Linked DNA regions of Homo sapiens: region 1 is linked to region 2. Evidence: promoter capture Hi-C in 16 types of primary human blood cells and fetal thymus (Javierre and others, 2016). All regions are on one chromosome and are shown on one strand. Each heading gives the region's core, a stretch centred on a gene start or on the middle of the fragment in contact. The rest is flanking DNA. Distances are from core to core; before and after follow the strand shown. Region 1 overlaps SEPTIN6 (septin 6). Region 2 holds the start of UPF3B (UPF3B regulator of nonsense mediated mRNA decay).

Region 1 (2,741 bases), core at 49-2,548, 230 kb before region 2:
GCAGGATGCATCTGCGAGCCACATGACTGTTGGCTTCTTGACCAGCGGCCAGACATCACCCTCAGATTCTCAGGTTTCTATAAACCTTGGCAGGAAGAGAGGAGAGGGCGCGGGTTGGATTGTATGCCCCCCAGGCATGTTAAGGGGGAAATTAGAGAAAGGGAGGCCCAGCTCTGTTGCGCAGGAAAAGGGTGTCTACAGGAAGCCCAAACTGAAAATGAAAAGAGAAGCTGAGTTAATGAATGGATAGATTAATGTACCAAAAAAAAAAAAAAGTCAGAAGAAAATTAAGTAATGAGGACTAATGGCTAAATTAGAATATAGCTATGTTAGATGGTCTTAAGGTCTTATTGCATTGGCTCCGGGGAACATGCTTTCTCTCTCATACACTCCACACACACTCCCACATGATGGCAGCAGTGGCATTAGCCAGCAAAATAATGATCAACAACCACAAAAATACATTTTATCTTTCTTTCTTTTTTTTTTTTTTTTTGAGACAGAGTCTTGCTCTGTCACCCAGGCTGGAGTGCAGTGGTGCGATCTCGGCTCGCTGCAAGCTCTGCCTCCCGGGTTCACGCCATTCTCCTGCCTCAGCCTCCCCAGCAGCTGGGACTACAGGAGCCCGCCGCCACACCCGGCTAATTTTTTTGTATTTTTAGTAGAGACGGGGTTTCACCGTGTTAGCCAGGATGGTCTCGATCTCCTGACCTCATGATCTGCCCGCCTTGGCCTCCCAAAGTGCTGGGATTACAGGCGTGAGCCACTGCACCCGGCTCTTTTTTGTTGTTGTTGTTGAGATGGAGTTTTGGTCTTTTGCCCAGGCTGGAGTGCAGTGGCCGTGATCTTGGCTCACTGCAACCTCCATCTTCCAATTTCAAGCGATTCTCCTGCCTCAGCCTCCTGAGTATCTGGGATTACAGGCGCCTGCCACCACGCTCGGCTAATTTTTGTATTTTTAGTAGCGACGGGGGTTTCATCATGTTGGCCAGGCTGGTCTCGAACTCCTGACCTCAAGTGATCCACCCGCCTCAGCCTCCCAAAGTGCTGGGATTACTGGCGTGAGGCACTGAGCCCGGCCTATCTCTTCTTAATGACTAGGTCCTGACTAGTGTCCCCCACCACCCACCCCCAGCACCACCACCCACCCCCAGCACCACCACCCAATACCTTGTACAGGAATACCTTCCACAAATCTCTAAGTGGCCTCAGGCCACTGGATAGAGCCCCAGGCTCTAGCCACTGCATTTCCTGTCCCATTGGGAAAGTAGAGGAGGCTGAGGTTTCACCCCAGGAGATCCTTAGAGCTGTCCTAGTCAGCTAACTGGTACTCTGGGGCAAGACCTGTTTGCAGAGCATATGGGGATGATTGCAGAACTCTGTTCTAGGGTCCAGACCACAGTTACCTGAAAATGTGAACTATGGAAACCCATCATTGGTTTGTGCTTAAATAATACTTTGACCTCTCTTCCATGTAAATTTCATTCCTGTGACATAAATACAGCAAGTAGAACTGATCCCCATTTCATATGAGTAGACCAAGAAACACAGAGAAGTCAACAGACTTGCCTGTGGCTGCAAAGAGTCACAGCTGGGCCCAGAGCTGGTGTGTGTGTGTGTGTGTGTGTGTGTGTGTGTGTGTGTGTGTGTGTGTATTTTTATTTCTTTTGAGATGGAGTCTTGCTCTGTCACCCAGGCTGGAGTGCAATGGTGCGATCTTGGCTCACTGCAACCGCCGCCTCTGGGGTTCAAGCAATTCTCCTGCCTCAGCCTCCCAAGTAGCTGGGATTATAGGCACCCGCCACCATGCCCAGCTAATTTTTGTATTTTTAGTAGAGACAGGGTTTCACCATGTTGGCCAGGCTGGTATTGAACTCCTGACCTCGGGTGATCCTCCTGCCTCGGCCTTCCAAAGTGCTGGGATTACAGGCGTGAGCCATCATGCCCAGCCAACTCTCTTAAAAAAAAAAAAAAAAAATAGAGAGATAGGGTTTCACCATGCTGCCCAGGCTGGTCTCCAACTCCTGGGCTCAAGTGATCCTCCCACCTCAGCCTCCCAAAGTGCTAGGATTACATAAGTGAGCCACCTCGCCCAGCTTCCATTTACTCATCTTGCAAACTGGGGATTATTCCTTCTCTACCTCACAGACCTGTTGTAAGTATAAAATGAGATACTATACAAAAGACAAAAACAAAAACAAAACAACAACAACAAAAAAAAACACTTTGGAAAGTAATAAAAGCTATACAAATGCTCATATCTTATTTTTATTCTTTGTCTACTTCCTAGGGGAAGAGTAATCTAAAAAACACTGCAATGGCCTATGTTCTAGGTTTCATGGGAAGGCTGACGTATTTTGATGTGTGTATACTATCCATATACTGTGCACTCCTAAGGACCAATAATGATTGAGGTAGAGTATCTGCAACGATGTAGGGGGTCACAAAGGAATCGCTTTTACAAATGCAGAGAGCTATAAGTAGTGCCTCAAGCAATTTCAAAATGTGGAGGCACAGTAAGCCTCACTCTGCCTGCATTCTAGGTGGCCTTCGTGATCCACCCCTTGAATGAGGGCTTTGAGGAGGGGGCGGGTTGCCTTTGCTGCTTTCAGATCCTGGGGAGCCAAAGCCTCCCCTGACTCGTTGGTCTGAAATTGCTTTCGTGGTCTGCCAGGGAGAATCCTGCCAGGAAGAGCCAACCTACTTGGGGTTGGGGTTGGCTGTTCCAGCTGTTTACCAAT
Region 2 (2,700 bases), core at 1-2,500:
AAGAATGAAAGAAACCTTTTTCATTTACCCCTTTCCTTTTTTTTTTTTTTTTACCTCGTATCATTAGAAAAAAACTCAAAATAATCATGCTCAGGCATAGGTTGAAGATGTTCCTGAAGCTGCTCCTTGGTCAAAGTGGGAGGTAATCTTCGAATTACCACCTTAAGAAATGCATAAGGAAAATAAAATTAGTACAAATCAGTTTTCTGTCATACCTGAAAGAATCACAGTTCCTGAAGAAGGCTGGGCTTTAAAATATGAGATCACTTGTAAAAACCCAGGAGAAAATATTCTTCTGCAGCCCAATGCTCAGAATTAGTCAAACATAATAGTAACGCGGTTTAAAAAAACCCTTGGAAATGAGAACCACCTGGAGCAAGGAAAAATCGCAGGTTTTGCTCTTTACAGCAGCCCTGCAGTTTACCAGGTTTGTGCATCATTTTCGATCACCCATTTTTTAACAGATCTAGTGGCAATAACTTAGTAAGCCAACGCTGGTCTTTGTGGGTGCCACGAAATCTTGATTTAGCAACAAGTTTCTCCCACGTCCAACACATCTTAAAACAAAATCCTTGCCCATTGAACTTAAGAATTCAAAACTCTAACGAATACAAAAAATCTACCCATTGCTCTCAAAATAGGATGCTCTCGATCTACCCTCCTGTACCATTAATCACCCTGCACTCTCCCCCAACTCGCCTCCATGAATAATATTCCCATCCCTCATGTCTCCTTCACTATTTAATATTTCTCCCCAATTACACCTTTAGTTCCTCATTCTTTATACCGTCGCTCTTCCCTCCCATTATCATCTCACAGCTCTGACCTAAACCCTTCCCGTTTGGGGAGTCCCCTCTTTTCCTCACCCCCACCCAGGATTTGGCCGGGAGGGGCTCTCCCCATTTCGGGTGAATGGATGAACCAGGATGATGCGACTTCCATTCAGGCGAAGAGATAGAAGGAGAACCTGAGAAAGAAAGGGGGCAGCCCCATTCCCAGCCATCCTCCCCGCGCTGCGGACTCGTCCCGCCCTCTCCCGGGCCAGCGGCCGACCGGGCACCTTGCTCAGCGCTTCTTTCTTCTCCTTGTTGCGATCCTGCTTATCTTCCCCCTTGGAGCTGTCCCCCGAGGTCCCACCACCGCTGCCTGTGGCCCCGGCGGGGGTTAACAGGGTTACTCGCTTCTCCTTAGGCCTGTGCTCCTTCTCTTCCTTCATGGCTACGTCCCCCGCTGAAGCGGCTTGGCCGGAACGGGGTTACCCCGGGCACAAACGGCTCCCGGGAAGCTCCCGTCAAAGCTCCGCCCCCAACAAATGCCCCTTGTGATAAGTCGGGCCCCACGTTCCATTGGGTCCTGCCAAGCTCTCGCGAGACTTGGGCCTTTCCCAGTGCAAAGGTTTTAACACCTGGTTTTTACTTCCCGCCCGCCAAGTTCCTGCGCCACCCAATCCCCTCGCGGCCCAGACTCCCTCGGGGCCCGCCCCTTCGCGCGTCATTAGCAATTCCGCCATCTTGAAGTGACTCTGTCGGGGACTACAAATCCCGGCATACAAAGCAGCTACCCGCTTTTGTTGGGCGTTCAGGGGCCAGAGCTATCTCAGGGTCCCTGTTTGTGAGTAAATCGAATCCTTTCATCTTCAGAGTTTTCCAGGTCGAAAGATAGGTTCTTCACGCTTAGTTTCCATCAGATAAACTCAATGCCGTCCAAATTTTGCCTCACTAGGGGAGCGACTTGTATTTTTTATCATTGAATTCAGAGGCTTTAGCATTTATTTTCCTACAACTAAAAGAAAAAGCCTAACATTTAAAAAACTTTATTTTCCTTATATTGATTAGGATTTACAGATACTTAGTAAATACTACAATATTAGCCGAGTTCAGTGGCGCACGCCTGTAGTCCCAGCTGCTCGGGAAGGTTGAGAAGAGAGGATCTTGAGCCCAGGAATTCGAGGCTGCAGTGAGCCATGATCGCGCCGCTGCACTCCAGCTTGGGCGACAGAGCGAGACCCTGTATATAAAAAAGAAGGATAATAATAAATAAACACAAGATACTGATATTTAAAGGAGTAATATGACTAAAATATACAAGATTTGTTTTCATCACCTTATTTTAGCAAAAGGATCCTTCTCCCCAGGTACTGATGTCCCACAGGGAGGGGAATAAAAATAAAACCCAACTTGATTTAGTTGCGATCACCATCTTCACTTAAAAAGGGCCAATTTTACATTATTTATAATAACTCCAAACTGGAAACAATCCAAATGTGAATCTAACAGTGATTATGTTGAGTGACAGAATCTAGACACAGAGTACATGTTGTACAATTCCATTTATATGAAATTTTAGAAAAATAAAACCACAGTGATAGAAAGCAGATCAGTCGGCCAGGCGTGGTGGCTCACGCCTGTAATCCCAGCACTTTAGGAGGCCAAGGTGGGTGGATCACCTGAGGTCAGGAGTTCGAGACCAGCCTGGCTAACTTGGCGAAACCCTGTCTCTACTAAAAACAAAAAAAATTAGCAGGGCGTGGTGGCACATTCCTGTAATCCCAGCACTTTGAGAGGCCGAGGCCGGCGGATCACCTGAGATCAGGAGTTCGACACCAGCCTGGCCAACTTGGTGAAACCCTGTCTCTACTAAAATACAAAAATTATCTGGGCATGGTGGCAGGCGCCTGTAGTCCCAGCTATTTGGGAGGCT

Evidence for each region. Contacts are between HindIII fragments. The CHiCAGO score rates a contact against its expected background, and 5 or more counts as called.
Region 1: a fragment that was not itself captured here is called in contact with the fragment with the promoter of UPF3B in region 2 in 1 of 17 cell types (naive CD8 T cells); the score reaches 5.5 in naive CD8 T cells.

The regions. Positions count from the first base shown.
Region 1 is chrX:119,619,841-119,622,581 of GRCh38, forward strand. SEPTIN6 (septin 6) reads right to left here. Exons shown (of 11, transcript NM_145799.4): 11 at 1-211. Among named protein-coding and RNA genes, the nearest start is that of NKRF, 15 kb to the left of the region's middle. The HindIII fragment of the contact is 8,378 bases long and covers 1-2,741 here.
Region 2 is chrX:119,851,713-119,854,412 of GRCh38, forward strand. UPF3B (UPF3B regulator of nonsense mediated mRNA decay) reads right to left here and starts at 1,251. Exons shown (of 11, transcript NM_080632.3): 1 at 1,061-1,251; 2 at 55-161. The coding sequence starts at 1,216. RefSeq lists an enhancer at 1,226-1,285. The HindIII fragment of the contact is 8,775 bases long and covers 1-2,700 here.